Linked DNA regions of Homo sapiens: region 2 is linked to region 1. The links are contacts of gene promoters, found by promoter capture Hi-C in human tissues and cell types (Jung and others, 2019). All regions are on one chromosome and are shown on one strand. The core of a region is centred on a gene start or on the middle of the fragment in contact, and the rest is flanking DNA. Distances in the headings are between cores, read along the strand shown.

What was found. The method cuts DNA at HindIII sites, captures the fragments that hold promoters and counts their contacts. A contact is called where the count stands out against the background at its distance.
Region 2: a contact is called between a fragment that was not itself captured here and the fragment with the promoter of SGSH in region 1, in 1 of the 25 tissues and cell types used here (H1 embryonic stem cells).

The regions. Positions count from the first base shown.
Region 1 is chr17:80,218,300-80,222,786 of GRCh38, reverse strand. SGSH (N-sulfoglucosamine sulfohydrolase) reads left to right here and starts at 2,454. Exons shown (of 8, transcript NM_000199.5): 1 at 2,454-2,561. The coding sequence starts at 2,474. It overlaps SLC26A11 (solute carrier family 26 member 11), which reads right to left and starts at 2,360. Exons shown (of 18, transcript NM_001166347.2): 1 at 2,291-2,360; 2 at 1,672-1,871; 3 at 993-1,239; 4 at 1-132. The coding sequence starts at 1,226. RefSeq lists enhancers at 1-635, 3,293-3,412 and silencers at 2,133-2,202, 2,223-2,492. The HindIII fragment of the contact is 8,333 bases long and covers 1-4,487 here.
Region 2 is chr17:80,373,066-80,377,704 of GRCh38, reverse strand. RNF213 (ring finger protein 213) reads right to left here. Exons shown (of 68, transcript NM_001256071.3): 49 at 4,540-4,639; 50 at 3,116-3,247; 51 at 1,835-1,945; 52 at 1,162-1,404; 53 at 742-823. The region is part of intron 1 of RNF213-AS1 (RNF213 antisense RNA 1); the gene reads left to right. Among named protein-coding and RNA genes, the nearest start is that of ENDOV, 40 kb to the left of the region's middle. RefSeq lists a silencer at 949-1,149. The HindIII fragment of the contact is 4,243 bases long and covers 1-3,455 here.

The DNA.
Region 1 (4,487 bases), core at 1,205-3,704:
GTAGGCGGGCTCATGGAAGGTGTAGAAGGAGACCAGGAGGGACATAATGGCGGTGGGGCCCAGAGTCACATCCCGGGAGGTGCCCAGGAAGAAATACACGAAGCAGCCCATGAAGGCAGAGTAGAGGCCATACTGTGGGGAGAGAGGGTGGTGAGCACTCAGGAGGCCGAGGCCCATCCACCAGCTCCCTAGTGTGCGTGTCCAAGCTCGGGATGTGTGGGTGTCAGCTGTGTCCAGGCCCAGGTTAAAGGTGCACCGCCCTGCCCTGTGGGTGGACCTGCAGTGATCAGGAGGCCACTTTTTTAGCAGCACTCAACTGGGGCCTCAGGGTGCAGACAGCCAGGCAGAGGGGTCGGTGCAGGCCCGTGTGCTGTGTCCAAGTCTGAGGAAGCATTCTTTTTTTTTTTTTTTGAGATGGAGTCTCGCTCTGTCGCCCAGGCTGGAGGGCAGTGGCACAGTCTCGGCTCACTGCAAGCTCCGCCTCCCGGGTTCACGCCATTCTCCTGCCTCAGCCTCCCAGGTAGCTGGGACTACAGGCACCCGCCACCACACCTGGCTAATTTTTTGTATTTTTAGTAGAGACGGGGTTTCACCCTGTTAGCCAGGATGGTCTCCATCTCCTGACCTTGCGATCCGCCTGCCTCGGCCTCCCAAAGTGCTGGGATTACAGGCTTGAGCCACCGCACCCAGCCTAATTTTTGTATTTTTAGTGGAGACGGGGTTTCACCATTTTGGTCGGGCTGGTCTTGAACTCCTGAGGCCTCCATGAGTCATCTCGCTGGCCCCTCCATAACCAGCTCAGTGTCTGTGTGTGCCAAACAGGCATAGGAGCCTGGGTCGGCCCAGAGACAATCTGCGTCACACACTGTAAACCAAAGGTTCCTTGGGGCCCAGGGGCTGGAAACCTGGAATCGCTGATGGTGTCTGGGATTGATACTGTGTATTCTGCACTGTTTCTGAGATATGGCTGGCAGCAGGGTCAGACGCCTCACCTGGGGCGGGAGTCCAGCCACTTCAGCATAGGCCAGCGCCTGGGGAATGGCAGTGAGGCCAACTGAGAGGCCGGCGACGAAATCCATCTTCAGCCACTGCAGGGAGTAGCTGGGCAGCCACGCCAGGATGGGCAGCCTCCTCTGCAGGGCCGCAGGGGAGCAGCAGCAGGCGCTCGGGGCCATCCCGGGGCCAGAGGACCTGGCCTGACCCAGCGCCGTCACCGAAGAAGGCATCTCTACGGTGGGGCTGGGGGGTGCAGGTGACACAGACCAGCAGTCAGAGCGTGGCCTTTGAAGAACCCGGCAACACTGGTCAGGGTCGGCGGGTGTCAGGAGAGGTCACTATGGGTCTCCCCTCCCCAGGGGGGCGAACGGCTCTAAGAGGAAGCCAACAATGTGTGCAAGATGGGGACTGGGCCAAGACTGGAAGGCCCACCCCGTCCCTCATCACCCTCTCTCCCTGAATCCCCCCCGTGCAAATCCTGGGTGCCTTCTGTCCCTCCATCCTCAACTCTCCCAGATAAGAAACTGATAAGCGATTCCTCATTGAGAAGTCTGAAGACTAATTAGGCTCAACACTTCTGGCCCCTGGAGAACCGACTTCCTTTGCCTTTTTTTCCGTCTCCCCAGGGAATTTAACGGGGAGCAGCGCAGAGAGAAGCTGGGCCCGCGGGCGCACCGTAGGCTGGCGGGGGGTGCGGGTGGCAGCCAGGAGATCCAGCGGGGCTCCGAGGTTTTCCAACTGCGCACCAAGGCGGGCTCCACCCGCTACGGTGGACTGCGGCGCTCGAGGGAGAGTGGGGGGGTCCTCCGCTCCTGAGGCCACGCCTCGCTCAGCCCCCACCTGTGGCTTTCACAGCCCTGGAGTTCTAGTTGCTTCTGGGAGGACATCAGAGGCGCCCGGTTAATTCAGGTGCGCAGCATCTTCCAGGGCCCCGGCGCCCGCGCGCAGAGCCGCCACCCTCACCCCCAGCCCCCCACGCCCCCGGCCGCTCCGCTCCGGGCAAAATCCACTCCCCGGCCCCCGGCCCCGCCCACAAGGCCGCTGGCTCCGGATCCTGGGGTCTCCGGAGGAGACCCTGCGCCACCTGACCGTCCGCGGTCCCTTGGCCCCGAGCAAGGCCGAGGGCCGCGGGGACCCGGGTAGGGACGCGGCGGGGGAGTGGTCCCCACGGGAGGCCCCCGCACTTCAGGACTCCGCGCTGGCCCCCGCGTCGGCTGCCCCCGGCGACCCCGGCCACTGTCCGCTCCCCCTGCCCCTGGTCCCCGCTCGCCGCCCTCGCGGGCCACGGACTCACCCACTCGGCGATGCAGCTTGGGGTCTCCTGGCGTCGCCGCAGCTGGGTCCGCAGGAATCGCCGGGGACAGGCCGGGGCGGGGTCTGGCGCGCACGTGACCGGGGTCGGGGCAGGGGGCGGGGCCGAGCGGGAGACCAGAGAGCCGGAGCCGGATCCCGATCCCGAGTCCGAGCCGCCGCCGCCATGAGCTGCCCCGTGCCCGCCTGCTGCGCGCTGCTGCTAGTCCTGGGGCTCTGCCGGGCGCGTCCCCGGAACGCACTGCTGCTCCTCGGTGAGTGCCGGCGCCGCCCCCCCACGCCCACCTGCGGTGGCCCGGGGAAGTGGCCACTGGCCTCCTCCCCACCCGTGGTCAATGCTGACCCTAGTGTGCCCTGCCCTTGTATCCCCCGCTGCCATTCCCTCTCGTCCTCCTCTCTGTGCCGCCCCCAGACTCTTCACGGGTGTCTCCCCAGAGAGGGCAGCAAAGGCTGGAGGAGTGAGCCCCAGCATCCAGCACCCCTACACTTACCTCGTGCCGCCTGTCCCACCCTCCTCTGACCCTGCCCAGCCAGGGCTCAGGGGTCCACGGATCTCAAATCCCTCTTGGGAGGGGATCCCAGAGGAGGGGCTGGTGCTCCGGTCCCCAGAGACTGCAGACAGGGTGCCCTCCTGGCTCTCATTTCCGACCCCAGAGCCTGTGTCTCAGCTGTCTTTTCCCTTATCCCAAGGGCACAGCCCTCCACCACCCACCCACCACCGTCTCCCCCAACCCCAGTCCCTCTCAGAAACCCCAGGTTCCTCCAGAGCAAGCACCGTGCTGCTCACAAGACTTCCGGTTTAGGTAATCAAGGCTCTGGCTCATGACAAGTGACAAGGCCAAACCCAAGGCCTGCGATTCTTTCCCCTTCTGAGGTCTGGCGCCCTGCCAGTTGCCCTCTTTCTGATTAATTTTGTGGTCTCTGGGCGGGGGTTCGGCTCACTGTAACATAAACAGCTCTCCTGCCAACTCCTCGCCTCCCAGAAACACAGCAGAGAATCTGCATGGACCCTCACCTGCGGATCAGAATTCCTACAGGAGGCTGTCAGAGTCCAGGCTATGCGGCCCCTGGGCTAGGGCCTTTCTTAGCACGGACTGCCATGGATCGGCTTAAACAGAAATGTATTTCTCACAGTTCTGTGGGCTGAAAATCCAAGGTCAGGGTGCCAGCTTGGTTGGGTTCCAGTGAGGGTCCACTTTCGGCTTACAGGTGGTCACCCTCTCACTGTTTCCTCACATGACAAGCGGATGGGGGTGGTCTCACTTCCTTTTCCTTTCTTTTTCCTTTCTTTCCTTTTTTTTTTTTTTTTTTTTTTTTTGTGAGACAGGGTCTCACTCTGTCACCCAGGCTGGAGCACAGTAGCACAATCACAGCTCACTGCAGCCTCAATCTCCCAGGCTCAAGCGATCCTCCTGCCTCAGCCTCCCAAGTAGCTGGGACCTCAAGTGCACATCACCATGCCTGGCTAATTTTTGTATTTTTTGTAGAGACAAGGTCTCACTGTGTTGCCCAGACTGGTCTCGAACTCCTGGGCTCAAGCAATCTTCCTGCCTTGGCCTCCCGGGTGCTGGGCTTACGGGCATGAAACACTGCACCCGGCCCTCTCTTTCTTTTCCTTTAAGTCCACAGTCCTGTCAGATCAGGATCTCATCCTTATGATTCATTTACCCTTAATTAAGGACCCTGTCTCCAGATACAGTGATGTTGACGTTAGGGCTTCAGCATATGAATTCTGGGAGGACACAGTTCAGACCATAGCAGGCCCACAGCCAAGTGCCGAGACACTCTGGGTTTGGAGAAGGGCAGCTTTCTTCCTGGCCTGCGGGTACGGAGCACAGCCCATCCCGCTCTCCCTCCAGGTTTACGTGGCTGCCATGTGCTCACACCTGTGGGTACTGTGGGGTGGAGGATGGAAGCCCAACTGGAAGGTGCCCAGCCTCCTCTGTCCATCCATGGACCACATTGCCTCTGAGGGAGCTGGGGAAAGTGTTGGTCTGGGGGTTCCCACCAGCCTCTCCTGTGGTGCCCCCAGTGTCCTCTACTCCAGAGCAGGGGGAAGAAGCTTGGTGTGGTTGTAGGAGTTCAGCGGCCTGTCCCTGTTTCCTGCTGCCCAGTGTGTGGCCCTGGGCACTGCACCTCACCTTTCTGGGCCTCAGCTGCTTTGTGTAGGATGAAAGGGT
Region 2 (4,639 bases), core at 85-2,584, 160 kb before region 1:
GAAAAGGGAAAGCTAACTCTCTACTCTCTGGCCCTGACCACAATATGAGAATGACTGTCCAGAGCATCCCACGCTAATTTGTTAAGTTACATGACACCTGCCTGAAGCTTAATAAATGTATGTTGTCAGTGAAAAATGTCTGAGTCTAATTTTATTAATTTTATCAAGTAAAGAGCAATTAGAATATAGGCCCATACCAGGGGTACTTTTGGAGGCAAGGTGGACAGGATTCTAGACCTTTCTATTTTCCTTGATTTTTTTTTTTTTGTCATGAGCATATTTTATAACAACTTTAAAAACTAGTTTTAAAATATTTACTCAGGCAACAGCAAAATTTACATGTCATGGGTTATATGAGTCAGTCTCCCGGTTCTATATTTCATATATTTCAGAAGAGCTTTGTGTCAAAAACTTTGTTTTGTGGTGGGCCTTTGAATGCGTCTCTGATGTGGTTCCCAGTCCCTCCCTTCTCCCAAAATGGCATATTCCAGAGAACAGAAGTGCATCACAGAGGGCCTTTTCCACACGACAAAGAAATGAAATGGTTTGGATCATCTAGCCGGCGGAGTGCCAGCTCCTTCAAGCCATTCGTCTTCTGCAGACGCCACCGGTAGAATGCAGGTGGTTTTGGACCCTGAGGCACAAACCACGTGGACCCCAAGTCGAACCCAATGCTTCATAGCATCTGGACACCCTTTGAAGCTCAAAGGAGTGTGGGGTCATCTAGACCCCAACACTTACTGTACCAGTGGACTCGCTCCAGACCCTTCCACCTCCGAGCTTGAGCCAGCAAGTCTTCAGGCATGGTTGGAAGAAAAGCATGCTGAAAAACAAGAAGACAGAGACAGCTCTAGATAAGTGAGCTTGTCACCTGGGTGCTGCTGCTCAGCAGGAGGCCTAGAGGAAGAAAGGGAACTCTGCTTTCCTTCTGCTGGACTTCTCAAGCTGTCTGTGAAGAAAACAGAACAGCTTCCTGTGAAATAACAAAGGGCAAGGCAAGTCTGTCACTATCTTGTGTGCTCAAGAATCAGGTGACACAAAGGCAGAGAACTGAGGAGATAAAGATGCTCAAGAGTTCCCACAGCTGCAGCTCGGTCTCTACAGTGACAAGCTCTGGGGGGTGTTCCAGTGAAGGCCGATGGAATTGTGGCCTACTCTTACCGCCATGGTGGCTGGGGAGAAGGCCAGATTCTTTAGGGGCTCCAAGAGTTCATTCTGTCCACACAGAAGGACGGCTGCAGCATGAATGGCCATTTCTGTCACCGTTCCATCAAGGTTGCTGTCACTAGGCCCCGCCCTCAACAATGGCACAGAATTGTCCACGAGCGATGTTGCAAAACGGCTGATATCAGGAGGTGAAAGGATCTTGCATTCGCCAATGAATTTGCTCACAGCTTCACATTGCTGACAGGAAAAAAACTTAACATTAAGATGTATCAAAGAATATTGTGTGAATTGCTCTTAGACATACACTGACACCAAATACACATCAAATATCAAGGTAAATATGGAGAAATCACCACCATTTGAGGGGGAAATTTTTCAGAGAAGAGAATTGTGCATATACAAACACAGCATCCACATACGTAAGCATTAATTTTGATATTCTATTCTGTTAAACATTATCTTATGTTCTTGGCTTTAGTTTTCATTATAATTCTACAAGCTTTGGGTTAAACAGCTTGGTTATGTGTTCCTCCACATAACAAGGTTGAGAACCTCTATCCTAGATAAAAAAATTATGGTATGATTTGTGTTGATAACTTTCATTCTATTCAATAAAATCCCTCCAAATACTGAGACTTTGAACACAGCCCTGCAGGCGGTTACTCACCTCTGGCGTGGGGTGGAGGCTTGCATTGTGGGATCTGTACAAAATAGCCACCTCTCTAAACAGTGTTAACAGGAAGTAGGCTGACTGCTGGCTTTGGGGGGTCTTGCAGGCCTGCAAAATCAAGGGTATCAAGTAAGAATTTAAAAGCTCAACACATCTTTTTTTTTTGAGATGGAGTCTTGCTCTGTCACCCAGGCTGGAGTGCAGTGGCATGATCTCGGCTCACTGCAACCTCTGCCTCTCGGGTTCAAGCGATTCTAACTCAGCCTCCCGAGTAGCTGGGACTACAGGCACACGCAACCATGTCCGGCTAATTCTTTTTTTTTTTCTTTTAGTAGACACGGGGTTTCACCATGTTTGCCAGGCTGGTCTCAAACTCCTGACCTTGTGATCTGCATGCCTCGGCCTCCCAAAGTGCTAGGATTATAGGATAGACGCCCCCGCACCGCTGCCTGCCAGATCTACCTAAGGGCCAGAGGCCCACGAAGTTTGCATGTGAAAAGAAACTTTTCACATGCCTCAGCCCTCAACCCACCAAAAGGGAAGGAGCCTTTTCCAGGCCTGGACACCTGGGGTCATGCCCCACATGGGCAGTCTTCTGGCGAGCAACTTTTGGGCTACAAAGTTCCTGAAATACTCTCAGATTAAACTCAACGCATATTTAGCAGCCAGCTTAATGACAGAAGCAACGGAATCACCATCTGTTCTTCTGACTCCTTCACTGGTCTTAGAAACTTCTGAGCAGAAAGAGGATTTTCCATTTCCTCTTTTCCTGGCACAGGGACTCAAAAAGGAAGCAAGACCAGACCAATTTAAAGGTTAGATTCTAAAAACATCTTTATATTTTTTAACTTCCCACACTACACCAACATATGTATTTTTATTAAACACACATGCATATCTGAATTATGAATACATCTAGGTATGAATTTTGCTATTAATAGTTGTGTCAGCATCTTTCTTAGACTGTTTTCCAGCAGGGTCTCAAAGGAAGTAATGGGCATAAATCAAAAGGCGCTGCTGATGGACTTGGCAGATCAGCAAGACACAGCAAATCTGTCAACCCAGCTCAACTGTCATAGCTGTCCTGTTCCAGCCACTGGTTCACGCACACTAGCCAGGTGCGCCCTGGAGGCTGTGGGCACGTGACTTCCAATACAGTGTCACGTGATGGGCTGCATCAGTGGTCCATCACCCTGCATCATTTGACATAAACCAGGGAACATGCAGGCTCCAAGGGATGCCACCTGGTATCAGAGAGAAGCCACGGGCCCATCCTACCTTCAGAGCAGTCTTAATGCCCAGTGGCTTGCACTCGAGGACAGCTTTGGCCACAGCATCACGGAGAGCCTTGTATTCATCGCCGTACACCAGGTACCTATCCATCTGGCCTGGGTGGTCCTGCCGCAGCCCCTGGAATACAGAGGTTAGTTGGGGGTGAACAATGGGAGGAATGTCTTGCAAAGAACCGTCTGAACGGGTACAGGAACCAGGTGGTTGATCATTCGAGGTTTAAAGGCAGCCAAGCTGGGATTCCCTGACCTGGCCTGAGGCAGGACAGTCTGGTGCCCTCTTCGCAGGGAGCTTCCTCCTCAGTAGACGAAGAGGTGCAAGTGCAGGGAATGCCTGCCGACGGCAGCGCTACCTGGGGAGGTGCTTGCTTCCTCCGTTTGCGGCGCACCGCACCACACCTGAGGCCGGGTGGCTCAAGTCATGTCAACTCTAAACCCCAGGTGGTAGTCAAACAGTGCCGGGGTTCTTAGTACCATTTTTGTATCCCCTGGACAATAAGAATTTGTTAATTTCTGGGTATCTGGAAAGGACCACTGAGAGGCCTTGAAGCCTCTTTTTTTTTTTTTTTTTTTTGAGACGGAGTCTCGCTCTATCGCCCAGGCGCTGGAGTGCAGTGGTGCAATCTCGGCTCACTGCAACCTCTGCCTCCCGGGTTCAAGTGATTCTCCTGCCTCAGCCTCCCGACTAGCTGGGATTACAAGCACCCACCATCATGTCCAGCTAATTTTTTTTTTCTTTGAAGTAGAGACAAGGTTTCACCATGTTGGCCAGGCTGGTCTTGACAAACTCCTGACCACAAGTGATCCGCCTGCCTCGGCCTCCCAAAGTGCTGGAATTACAGGTGAGAGCCACTGTGCCCAGCCTGGCCTTGAAGCCTCTTCTGCAATTCTTCTATTCCTAGTTCTTGCTCTTGCCTGTCTCTGCCTGCCAGAGGTAAAAAGGTCGCACCTTGCAAGCTGAACTACGTTTAATTCGCTGAAAGCAAAGGCCACAAGAATGTTCTACTTTCCTTGAGTGAAATTCAATTAGAAGTGATGCCTAATTAAAGAAGCTCTGAGGTGAGTGCCCTCACCTTGGCCCTACAGCAGGCAGTGTAAACATGATCACAAGCTGGGGCAAATCAGCTGAAGCACAGAGACAAAGGACCAGACAGACAAGCGGCAGGTTTCCTTCCTGGCTCTGGGGATGCTAAGGGCAGGCGGAACGCGGAAGCAGTGGCACCATCCCTGGGTGTGAGGGTGAGGTGTGGGGGTGTGAGGGTGAGGTGTGGGGGTATGAGGGTATGTGGTGGGGAAGGTGTGAGGGGGTGGGGTGTGGGGGGGGTAGGGTGTGAGGGTAGGGGGGTGTGTGGGTTTGGGGTGTATGGGGCTGTGGGGGTGCATGTTTGTGTGCTGCCCGGCCCCGCTTCTCACCTGCTGCTTGACAACGTCCTTGGGAAACACCCACTGGTGCGGGCGGCCGGGCTTGGAGAGGCCCTGCACGAACTCCATCCCCCGCTGGCTGCTGAGCTTC